Regions from separate parts of the Homo sapiens genome. Here regions 1 and 3 are each linked to region 2. Evidence: promoter capture Hi-C in 16 types of primary human blood cells and fetal thymus (Javierre and others, 2016). All regions are on one chromosome and are shown on one strand. The core of a region is centred on a gene start or on the middle of the fragment in contact, and the rest is flanking DNA. Distances in the headings are between cores, read along the strand shown.

What was found. Contacts are between HindIII fragments. The CHiCAGO score rates a contact against its expected background, and 5 or more counts as called.
Region 1: a fragment that was not itself captured here is called in contact with the fragment with the promoter of SUV39H2 in region 2 in 2 of 17 cell types (monocytes and neutrophils); the score reaches 6.8 in monocytes.
Region 3: a contact is called between a fragment that was not itself captured here and the fragment with the promoter of SUV39H2 in region 2, in 1 of 17 cell types (neutrophils). The highest score is 5.2, in neutrophils.

What each region holds. Positions count from the first base shown.
Region 1 is chr10:15,117,412-15,121,286 of GRCh38, reverse strand. It overlaps NMT2 (N-myristoyltransferase 2), which reads left to right. Exons shown (of 12, transcript NM_004808.3): 9 at 1,774-1,944. It overlaps LOC105376431 (a long non-coding RNA gene), which reads right to left. Exons shown (of 2, transcript XR_930693.4): 2 at 1,718-2,064. Among named protein-coding and RNA genes, the nearest start is that of RPP38, 22 kb to the right of the region's middle. The HindIII fragment of the contact is 1,306 bases long and covers 1,973-3,278 here.
Region 2 is chr10:14,876,273-14,880,115 of GRCh38, reverse strand. It overlaps SUV39H2 (SUV39H2 histone lysine methyltransferase), which reads right to left and starts at 1,250. Exons shown (of 6, transcript NM_001193424.2): 1 at 1,197-1,250. The coding sequence starts at 1,227. It overlaps SUV39H2-DT (SUV39H2 divergent transcript), which reads left to right and starts at 1,457. Exons shown (of 1, transcript NR_186426.1): 1 at 1,457-3,793. RefSeq lists a silencer at 777-1,516. The HindIII fragment of the contact is 2,774 bases long and covers 1-2,465 here.
Region 3 is chr10:14,704,430-14,708,182 of GRCh38, reverse strand. All of the region lies in intron 1 of FAM107B (family with sequence similarity 107 member B), which reads left to right. Among named protein-coding and RNA genes, the nearest start is that of FAM107B, 69 kb to the left of the region's middle. The HindIII fragment of the contact is 4,120 bases long and covers 296-3,753 here.

The sequences.
Region 1 (3,875 bases), core at 1,376-3,875, 240 kb before region 2:
CTTAAGAGTGGAACTGCTAGATTATATAAAATTTTTAAAAATAATCATTTAGGGCAGAAAAAGTAGAGTAGCAATATTTATATACAGATTATTCATCTCTTAAAATGTATCTAGTGTTTCTCCAAGGGGGGGAAAAATCAGGTTTACAGAAAAAAATAAACTGTATTTCTCAGTTTAAAATTGTCTGTTTGTTGGGCTTCCTGACTTTTAGTCTCAAGTCCCCTGGCCCCTGAACAGTTCTAGAGAGCAAAGTGATGTCAGGAGCTTTTACAAGGACAACAGCTGAACAAATTCAAATGGGGACCTGTCCTGACTTTTAGGTGTTTTATTCCTATGGCTTAATTTTTTAAATTCTAAAGCTCTGGAGTAGTGATAAGACACCTACCCTGATCACCTTTACCCAGAAGATGTGGCAGGAGAGGCCAGGCCGCGTCCCTGGCAGCCATTTGCCGTTAGACAAGATGGACACTTTCAGGCTGGTATGGCTGTAAACCCGTTTGCCTTTAGAAAATACTTGGCTATGAACAATGCTTGCCTTCCCATCCAGCCTGATATGATTCACTCCTATATCATTTTTGTTCAAGAGAACAAAATCACCACACGCTTTTAATGGGCTATTGCATAATAAAACAAGTTGCTCAGTTGTATTTTCAAAATGTCAGACTTGGCAGTTTTAAAGCATCCCTCAGAAACCATGAAGGATTGGTTCTAGGACCCCTCAGATACCAGAATCCTTGGGTGCTCAAGTCCCTTATATAAGATGGCGTAGCATTGTGTATTTGCATATAATGTATGCACATCCTCCTGTATACTTTATTTATTTATTTTTGAGACGAAGTCCCTCCCTGTCTCCCAGGCTTGAGTGCAGTGGCGTGATCATGGTTCACTGCAACCTTCGCCTCCCAGTTTCAAACGATTCTCCTGCCTCAGCCTCCCGAGTAGCTGGGATTACAGGTGCATGTCACCACGCCTGGCTAAGTTTTACATTTTTCGTAGAGACAGGGTTTCATCATGTTGGCCAGGCTGGTCTCGAACTTCTGACCTCAAATGATCCACCGGCATCAGCCTCCCAAAGTGCTGGGATTACAGGCATGAGCCACCATGCCCCCTGTCCTGTATACTTTAAATCATCTCTGGATTACTTATAAGGTCAAATACAATCTAAATGCTATGTAAGTAGTTGTTACACTGCATTTTTAAGAAATAATGACAAGAAAAAAAGTCCGTACATGATCAGCACAGATGCAACGATCCAGTTTTTTTTCCCCGAATATTTTTCGTCTAAGGTTGGTCGAACCCACAGATGCACAACCAGTGGATACGGAGGGCTGCCTGTACTCCAGAAGTCATGCTAAGTTGGCTATGTCCCATCATGTAGACTGTTAACATTCTTGGCATTGGTATATACATTGGTGTGTTTTGGGTATTGGCGTACATCATGAACTTGTACTGTTCCCTTTGATGTTTGTTTGGGTCATGGGCAGTAGTGACCAAAGACTTGCCGCACAGATAGGAAGATACAACACATTGTCTGTCTCGCCTATATTTTAACCCAGCTCTTCTCAAACCTTAATGTATGTACAAACCCAAGGAAATCTTGTTGAGTTGCAGATTCGGATTCATTAGATCTGGGGCAGGGCCAGGCTCTGCAGCTCTAACTAGCTCCCGCGTGCTGCTCATTCTGCTGGTCTGCAGACCACACTTTGAGTGCAAAGTCGTTTCACTCCTCTTCTACCTGAACTTCTGGATTTGTTTTGTTTCCCCTCCAACAAGGTTACAAAGACTTCAGGTTTGAGACCAATGGAACCAAAAGATATCAAATCAGTTCGAGAATTAATCAACACTTACCTGAAGCAGTTTCATCTGGCTCCAGTGATGGATGAAGAGGAAGTAGCCCACTGGTTCCTCCCCCGGGAGCACATTATTGACACGTTTGTAGTGGAGGTAAAGACAAGGTGATAAACATAAAGCTTCTCCTTGAAGCACCCTTTGTGTTCAGCGTGCAGCAGAATTATTTACACACACTTCCTTCTATTTCATCACAGAACATTACAAAGATGTGTACTAAAGGGTAGAGAGTTAATAAGATTAATAATTCTGAATACTCTATCAAGGACATGCTTAAGTGAAACTGCCATTTGTTGAACCATGAGGGTGTGGTGTTGAGGAATATGGTAACCATGAGTGTGGTCTGGTGCCATTGTCTTGTTTTGTGCTAAGGCACCAGCAGCTTTACCCACAGCACTGCTTTGCACCGTTGATGCTGATGGTAACTTGTCAACAAGGCAAACAACTTCTTAGTGTTATGAAAATCATTTTGACCTCACAGATTTCTGAAAGGGTCTCAGGTACCCACAGGGTTCACAGACCACATTTTGGGAACTGCTTTCCAGGGCATATCATTAGAGCTGCTGAGTCTGTGGTTGGACCCATCTTTCACATTTTTAGAAATTGCCAAATAGCTCACCACAATAAGGTCCTGAGCAGTGTAAGAGAGTTCCTGTTTCCTTGCATCCTCACAAGACGTGGGTATGGTCAGATTTTAAATTTATTTAGGCCCACCTGATGAGTATGGAACAGTATCTTGTTAATTTATATCCTCATTGTTGATGAATTTGAGTATCTCATCAATCTGTTAGCCATGTTTATTTCTTTTATAAACTTGCTATTTACATCACTTGCCTGTTTTTTTTTTTTGACCGTAGTTGTCTTACTGATTTATGAAAGGTTTTTTGTTTGTTTGTTTTGAGATGGAATTTTGCTCTTGTTGCCCAGGCTGGAGTGCAGTGGCACAATCTCGGCTCACTGCAAACTCCACCTCCCAGGTTCAAGCTATTCTCCTGCCTCCGCCTCCCGAGTAGCTGGGATTACAGGCGTGCGCCACCATGCCCGGCTAATTTTTGTATTTTTAGTAGAGTCGGGGTTTCACCATGTTGGTCAGGCTTGGTCTTGAACTCCTGACCTCAGGTGATTCACCTGCCTTGGCCTCCCAAAGTGCTGGAATTATAGGTGTGAGCCACTGTGCCCAGCCCGTGAAAGGTTTTTTATATGCTGAATACTAACACTTTGTATTGCGTTCCTTTCTGGGTCCTCTATATTCTATTTCGTTGATCTCCATGTCTGTCTTTTCACTAATACCACACTGACCTCGTTGCTATAGCGATATAGGAAGCCTTAGTATCAGGTAGAGTAATTCCTCCCACTTTATTCTTGTTTGTCAAGATCATTTTAATTAACCTATTTCCTTTGCCTTTTGCATATACATTTTAGAATAAGCTTATTTTTGCCTACAAAATACCTTGCTGGTAGTTTGATAGGGATTACATTACACTGATAGATTAATTTGAGGATAATTGAAAAGTCTTCCAGTCCATGAACATGGAATGTCTCTACATTTATTTCGGTCTTTTAAAATCTCTTTTATCAGCATTCTCTAAGAGCATCCAGATCCTGTACATGTTTTCTTAAGTGTATAGCTAGATATTTCACTTTCTTTGGGGCGATTATAATGGTGTTGTGTTTTTAATTTCAGTTTCTGCATGTTCATTGTTAGCCTGTAGAAATGCTTTCTTTTGTGTGTTTGTATCCTACCACAGTGCTGAAATCACTTACTGGTTCCAGGAGTTTGTGTGTAGATTCCTTGTGATTTCTACATAGACAATGTGTCATCTGCAAATAGGGACAGCTTTATTGCTTCCTTTCCAATCTCGATGCCTTTATTTATTGGTCTTGCATTAATGCAGGACCTAGATCTTCCAGTGCTTTGTTGAGAAAGAGTGGGGAAGGTTGTCATCCTCGTCGTGTTCTTGATGGTGGGAGAAAAGCATTTACTCTTTCACCATGAAGTATGATGTTAGCTGTAGGTTTTTCTGTGG
Region 2 (3,843 bases), core at 1-2,500:
AGTCCCTTCCATCTACAAAAACTAGAGAACGTTTTGTGTTAAGCTGACCTCATTAAGGGAATCACGTATAAAGGAGGTTCCTCTTATCTACTCAAGGTGTGTTTGTGTGCTTTTCCTAAACATTTTTATCTAGTTGAGGATTCAAAACACAACCCGCAAAGGAAATGCTCTTTGAAAATTAAAAAAAAAAAAAAAGTGAACATGAAAAACTGCAAACACGTGGTTAAAAAAAGAAAGACAATCTCTCGACAGTCTCCAGTAATGCAGAAAAAGATTTCACTGACAAAATTAAATAGTTCATGACCACCACAAACACCTTCCGCTGGTTCACAGTAACCCCTGACATTCTCCAAGGAGAAAAATTCAGGGATAATGAGGTCATAATCCCAGCGGAGAGGAGACGAGCTTGAAAACACCTTTACATTCCGGAACGCACGGAAAAGTTCCAGGCTCTCAAAGCGTGCGCGACACCAACACCCCCCGACGCCCACACCCACGCGCGCTCGGTGCCCAGTTCCCCGGTGCCCAATTCCCCAGCGTCCACAGAAATAACACCAAGCTCCCGGTGGGTGAAAGAGTTACCGTAAGCCAGAGGCTGCAACCTCAAATACCCACTTTCTGGGCGATTCTCCAACGAGGCACTCAACCTCCTAGCGTGTCCGCCTTGGGGGGGATTCCTCGCTTATCCCCTTTCTTAGCACACAGGCGCCCCGATTTACTCTCCCCCTCTGATATTAAGGTCATGTTCACGCCGGCGGGCGTCGCTTCCCGCCTCCCACTTCAAAGGCCCGGGCGCATGCCGCACGCCGCGCTCGAACCACCACAAAGGAGCCAGTCGCAGCCGTGCCCCCCGGACCTCCAACCGGGGACTGCCGGGGAGCGGCCTCGAAGCCCGAGGCCGCCACGGGAGACGCGGAGGGGGCCGGGCCGAGCGGGCGGAGAGGCCACGCTCCACTTCCGAAGTGCCCCAGGCTCGGACAGTGCCCACCTCCGCGGCGGGAGCCGGCCGGGCAGGGAGGCGGGTCAGCGGCCTGGGGGAGGATAGGCGTCCGCAGCGTGCGTCCCGGAGTTGGGGTCGCGGCGGGCGGGGAACCGCCACGTCGCCATCTGGCTGGCCCGCGGGACGGCCCCGCCGCCCGGGCCTTGGGAGCTTGCCTGGGAACAGGGAAGGCGAGGGGGCCGCGCTCCAGCCTCACCTCCTCGCGCCTCGGCCCCGACCGCCGCCATCTTGTAGAGCTTTCATTCAAACTGGCGCGGTCTGACGGGATAGCTCAGCTGGCCCGACGCCCCGCCCCTGGCCGGCCCGCGCGGGACTTGGGGGCCGGGGCTTGTTGGGGGACGGAACCCGCACGGCGTCCTGACGTCACTGGCGGCCGACCCCCCGCCGCGGCGGCCAGCGCGCCTGCGCCCCAAAGCTAGGCCCGGCCCCAAGCGCGAGGAGCGGGGCGGGGCGAGCGCGCGTGCTCCCGGATCCTCGGCAGTGTCCGGCGCCCCCTTCCCTTCGCCAGGCCCGTTTGGCGCCTTCACTCGGGAAGACGTCGGCCAGGACTTTGCGCTTTGGAGACGTCTTACTTCGGCAGCACTCGCACACTGCGAGATCCGACACGGGCAGCGGGGACCTAGGGAGCCGGGGACGCTGCCTGTCGGGTACGGTTCCGCAGCTACCGCAGCCCCGTGGGCCATGGTTAGTCTCCCCCCGACACCGCTCCCTCTAGAGCTCCGGGCTTCGGAAGCGGCTGCACGTGGGCATGGCTGGAGAGGTTCCGCTGGCTTGGGGCAGTCGCCGGGATTCCGACTGGTTGGTGTGGGGTGTGGCCTGTGCTATCCAGCTCCCAGCTGATCCTAATGTGCGGCACAGCGGAAACCACCGGTCCACATCAGTGCTTCTCACTTAAAGGGGCTTACGAATCGTCGGGGGTGGGGGAGCTGGACTTGGAATTTTTTAAGAGATGAGGTCTCACTCTGTCACCCAGGCTGGAGTGCAGTGGCGCGATTACGGCTCACTGCAGACTAGACCTCCTGGGCTCAACTTTAATGTAAATTGGGATTGGGTAGGTCTGTAAGGGGACCCGAGCTCCCCTCCCATGTTGTTGCCAAGCTCCTGAGCTCGGCCTGGTGGCGGGTGGGGGCCGGGAGGAGAAGGACACGTTAGTAAGGAAGCTGCAGGACGACTCCAGGGGCCTCCCACCTGGTCTCCACCCCCCTCCCCCACCCATTCTTGACGCTGCATCCATGATTGTTCTAAACAACCTAAAGCAGAAATCTTAGAGCAAATAACGAAAACTGGCAGAAGGCCATTTGATATCTCCTTAAAAAATTCATGTAAAAAATTACATAAACGTTTCAAAGCAGTATGTATAAATTTGAAATACTGGAAATGAACGCAGACCATTAAAGGAATAGTTAATTATTTGATTCCATTATGAAATACTGTCTAGCCGTCTTAAAAAGGTGTTCATGAAGCTTTTAGTATTCAGCAAAACCAAAACAAATCCCCCTGAAATATAGTTTTAACTATGGAAGAAAAAAATGTATAGGAAAATAACGAAATAGCCTTTTCGGAGTGATTTTCTTTTTAACTTCTCGTTTTTAAATATTTAATCATTTTCTACGATGGGAAACACCACTTCCTCACACACACTCATGCTCCCAGACTTTATTTAGCTACAAACGGCATCATAATACAAATACTGTTCTGCAGTCCGTGTGTGTTTCAATGCAACTGCATTTCTCAGACATGTTTCTAAGATTTGAGTCCTTAGTAAATTTTGTATTCCATATCTCATTACCTTGAGATAAGGAATAAAAGGCCCTGTCCAACCCTGTCACCTGGAAGAGCATCCAGGCCCTTTAAGGCTTAGTCTATCTAGGATTATGCCTTCAGACTTGGATACAGCCTCCCGTCCTAACCGGCCCCTGTATTCATTACCTCTCCTGTATGTTTTCAGAGCCCACCAAGGAGCGGCCATCGCTACTCACTGGCCACTCTTGAATCCTTTTTGGCTCCTTTTCCTCAGTCCAACCTGGGTTCCTCAGAGAAGAGACTGTAGTCCTGGGACTGCATTTCTTTTCCGCCCTCTCCCTATGTGACTGCCCCAATTCCCATGGATTTAAATAGCATCTTGACACACAAGATGCCTCACTTATCGTCTCCGGCCCTGGCCTCTGCCTGAATTCCAGGCTAGAATATCCACAGTGCGTAATGGACATATGCCCTTAGGTGTTGCACAAACATCTCAAATTGAACATATCCGGAAAAATACACTTCTGAACTTCGTAGCATTCAGAATAAAACTCAAACCTCCAGATGGCCGGCAGGGCCTCCAGTGATGGGAATCCTGTCTCACCTCACTTGGTGCCACTCTCCCCTTTACTCATTTTCCTGGCCTTTCCCCGGCCCCACTTACCCAGAAATCTTTTACTGTGCATCTCCTATGTGCCAGGCACCTGATAGGTGCTGGGAATATAGCAGTGGATGAGAAAGAAAAAAGACCCAGTCCTCATGGAGCTGACTTCCTAGTGACAGGAGCAGCGGATAAAGCAAATCACTGAAGGCAGCTGGAAATTACTTTCCGGTTAAGAGGACAGGCTCCTTCCCCTCCTCACATGGCTACCTTCAGATCACTTGGGTCTCAGCTTAAACACCACCTATTGACAGAGGCCTCGCATGTTACCTCATTCTTTAGCCCTACTTTGCATCCTTAAAAAGCACTCATCAAAATTTGCAATTATCTTGTCGGGTTTTTGTTCTTTGGTCTTGATTCATAATGAATGCATCGCACTATTTTGTAAATCCAGTGTTTCGTTTCGTGTCTTGAATCCCATCCATTCCAGCGCATAGAT
Region 3 (3,753 bases), core at 1,106-3,605, 170 kb after region 2:
TCTCTTGAACCTGGGAGGCGGAGTTTTCAGTGAGCCGAGATTGTGCCACTTCACTATAGCCTGGGCAACAGAGTGAGACCCTATCTTAAAAAAAAAAAGACAGTCCTCCTAAGGTGAAGAGAATGGACAGGGCTGGAAATGGAAAGGAGAGGGTGGAGACAGAGCTCTGGGTTGGACATAATTGTTAGGACAATTTGGGGCTGAAGGCAGGGCCAGTCCTAGCTATTTTAACACATGCTGTGCCTTCCACAGCCTGGTCTGAATTTGTATTTTTCTTTTTTTTCCCTCATAAGCTTGGTGTCTCCTTCACAAGCTGGGATTCATTGAAAGATTCATGACTTCTTTTTAAATTACTTAAAAAAGATTCCAAGACATGTGCACATTTCACTAGTATGATGAAGTGGGAGTTGGGAGCCATGTTTATGGATGGGAAAAGCAAAGCGATTTTAACAGAATGAAGAATGCAAAAGAAAACAAGAATACATACTTGGGCCCTCCCACTGAAGGCAGCCATGTGGCTCCTTAATCTATCCCAGACGTCACAGCTTTCAGCAGAGAGTGGGGAATCTGTCCCATGAGACCAGCATGCCCTGTGAGTTACAATAAATGCCCACAGTGATCACAAAGTGGGAGAAGGGCCTTTTCTTCTGCAGTCATGGATTCACCTCTCGTCAGTCTCGGGGCATCCTGCTGGGTGATCCTGATTCTTTTTGTCCTTGTGCCTCAGCTCCTATTAGAGATCTCAGGGAGATACCTGGGAACGCAAACTTCTCTGAGCTGCTGGAGTGATGATGCAGTCCCTCTTTGTGTGTCTTTGAGAATGTCATTGTGGGAACGCAATTGGTGGGTAGTTGAAAGAAGGTTATGACAGCCCCTGAACTCACTTAGGAGGTGGCACTGATTGAATCAGAGCTAGACCACTTAAAATCATCTTTCCACAATTTTCTTTTGTTGGGGTGGTGATAAAATACACATAACGTGAAATTTACCACTGTAACCATTTTTTTGTTTTGTTTTGTTGTTTTGTTTTTTTGTTGTTGTTGTTTTGTTTTTTTCTGAGACAGAGTCTTGCTCTGTCGCCCAGGCTGGAGTACAGTGGCACGATCTCGGCTCACTGCAACCTCCGCCTTCCCGGGTTCAAGCAATTCTCCTTCCTCAAACTCCTGAGTAGCTGGGACTACAGGCGCGTGCCACCACACTCTGCTAATTTTTCTATTTTTAGTAGATACGGGGTTTCACCGTGTTAGCCAGGGTGGTCTCGATCTCCTGACCTCGTGATCTGCCTGCCTCAGCCTCCCAAAGTGCTGGGATTCCAGGCGTGAGACACGGCATCTGGCCACCATTTTTTAAGTGTATAGTTGGGTGCATCATCCAAAAGACCACCACGATGGCTGAAGAGTAGAAGGGACAGTTTTATTGGCAATATCAATTGGCAAACCAGGAAAAGATAGTCTCCAGCATGGACTAAAGCTGCTCACTCTTTGAAGAGGGGAAGGGCAGGTTGGATTTTATGCCTTACAATGTCTATATTACACAATAGTCATACATATTCAGCAGATTTGGGGAAAAGCTATATATATTTATAAGGATGAGGTCAAGTGCATATGCAATAGGTAAACATACATGTAACATACATCCCAGTTCACTTTGGGGTGAAGTTTTAGCATTAAAATGAGGCAGATATCCCAACACTTTGGGAGGCTAAGGTGGGAGGATCCCTTGAGGCCAGGAGTTCAAGACCAGCCTGGGCAACATAGTGGGACCTTATCTCTACAAAAAAATTTAAAATTAGCCAGGCATGGTGGTGTGTTCTGGTAGTGCCAGCTACTTGGGGGGCTGAGGCAAGAGGGATACTTTAGCTGTCTTAAAAAAAAAACAATTTGGAGTTTGAGGCTGCAATGAGTTATGATTGCACCACGGTACTCCCACCTGGGTGACAGAGTGAGACCCTGTCTCTTAAAATAAAATAGAACAAGGTGGTATATATCAAAAGGTTAAGCATAGGACACAAAGACAGTTTGTGCACAGCCTCCATGAGCTGCTGAAACTGGCTTAAGGTCTGCAGTTGCTTATCAGGAAAGAATGTTTATCAGGCCAATCCTCTGTTCAACAGAGTTGTAGTGGTCTGGGTTGTAAATCAGAATTAGGAAGGGTATGTTAATTTGCCTGATAGCTCCTATTGTATAGGAGTTTAGCAAGAGTGCGGTTTTTCTTGTAAGCCATAGGAATTTAGAAATTTGCCCTGCCGGTTGGGTCCTGAAACCTTGATCTGTAGGTAACTTCTGTTGCCTTAACGTTAGAGTTTCTCTTAGTTGACAAAAGGGCATCTGTTTTGGCCTCTCAGATCACAAGTGGCATCAAATACGTTTACATTGTTGTGCAGTCATCACCACCCTCCATCTCCAGAACTCTTTCGTCTTGCAAAAAACTGAATCTCTGTACCCACTAAACAACTTCCCCTTTTCTTCTCCACCTAGCCCTTGGCAACCATCATTCTGCTTGTTCTCTCTATGCATTTGACTACTCTAGGGACCTTGTAGGAGTGGAACCATATATAGTATTTGTCTTTCTGTGGCTAGCTTATTTCTTTGATTATAATGTCTTCAAGATCCAGTTATGTTGTGGTGTGTGTCAGAATTCCCTTCCTTTTTCAAGCTGAATCACATTCCATTGTATGGCTAGACCACACTTTGTTTATCCATTTTTCTATCAGGGAAAATTTGGGTTGTTCACACCTTTGGCTATTGTAGACAATGCTGCTAGGAGCATGGGTGTGCAAATATCCATTCTAGACTCTGCTTTTAATTCTTTTGGGTCAATATGCAGAAGTCTAATTGCTGGCTCATAGGGTAGTTGTATGTGTAATTATTTTTTAGGAATGAGTACTGTTTTCTATAGCACCTGCACCATTACAGTTCCCCCAGCAGTGTACAAGGGTTCCAGTTTCTCTACATTCTCATCACTGCTTATTATTTTCTTTTTTTTAAATAGTGGTCATTCTAATGGGTGTGAAAGTCGTATCTCATTGTGGTTTTGATTTACATTTCCCTAATGATTAGTGATGTGGTGCAGCAATCCATGAGCTTATTGGCATTTGTGTATCTTCTTTGGAGAAATGTTTATTCAAGTCCTTTGTCTATTTTTTTTTTTTTTTTTTTTGTGACAGGGTCTCACTCCATTGCTCAGTCTGGAGTACAGTGGCGCCATCTTGGCTCGCGGCAAGCTCTGCCTCCCGGGTTCAAGTGATTCTCCTGCCTTAGCTTCCCAAGTAACTGGGATTACAGTTGCCCACCACCATGCTTAGTTAATTTTTGTATTTTTAGTAGAGATGGGGTTTCATCATGTTGGCCAGGCTGGTCTCAAACTTCTGATCTCAAATAATCTACCCGCCTTGGCCTCCCAAAATGCTGGGATTACAGGCATGAGCCACCACACCTGGCCCTTTTGCCTATTTTGAATTAGATTGTTTGTTTTGTTCTTATCGAGTTGTAGGCATTCTTTATATATTCTGTATATTAATCCCATATCAGATCCATTATTTACAAATATTTTTGCTCATTGTATGTGTTATACTATTTTGATTTCACCTTAGATTCAGTTAAATATGCAGTTTAATTTTTAACCATCTTGAACTTTGAAGGCTGCCCAGTCTTGGCTGGGCGTCCCCTCTGTATAATTTGTAGATTTTGTCAGAGACCTGTCTCTGGGTAGACCCACCTTTTTGAAGATAGGCTACAACCACACAATATTTTT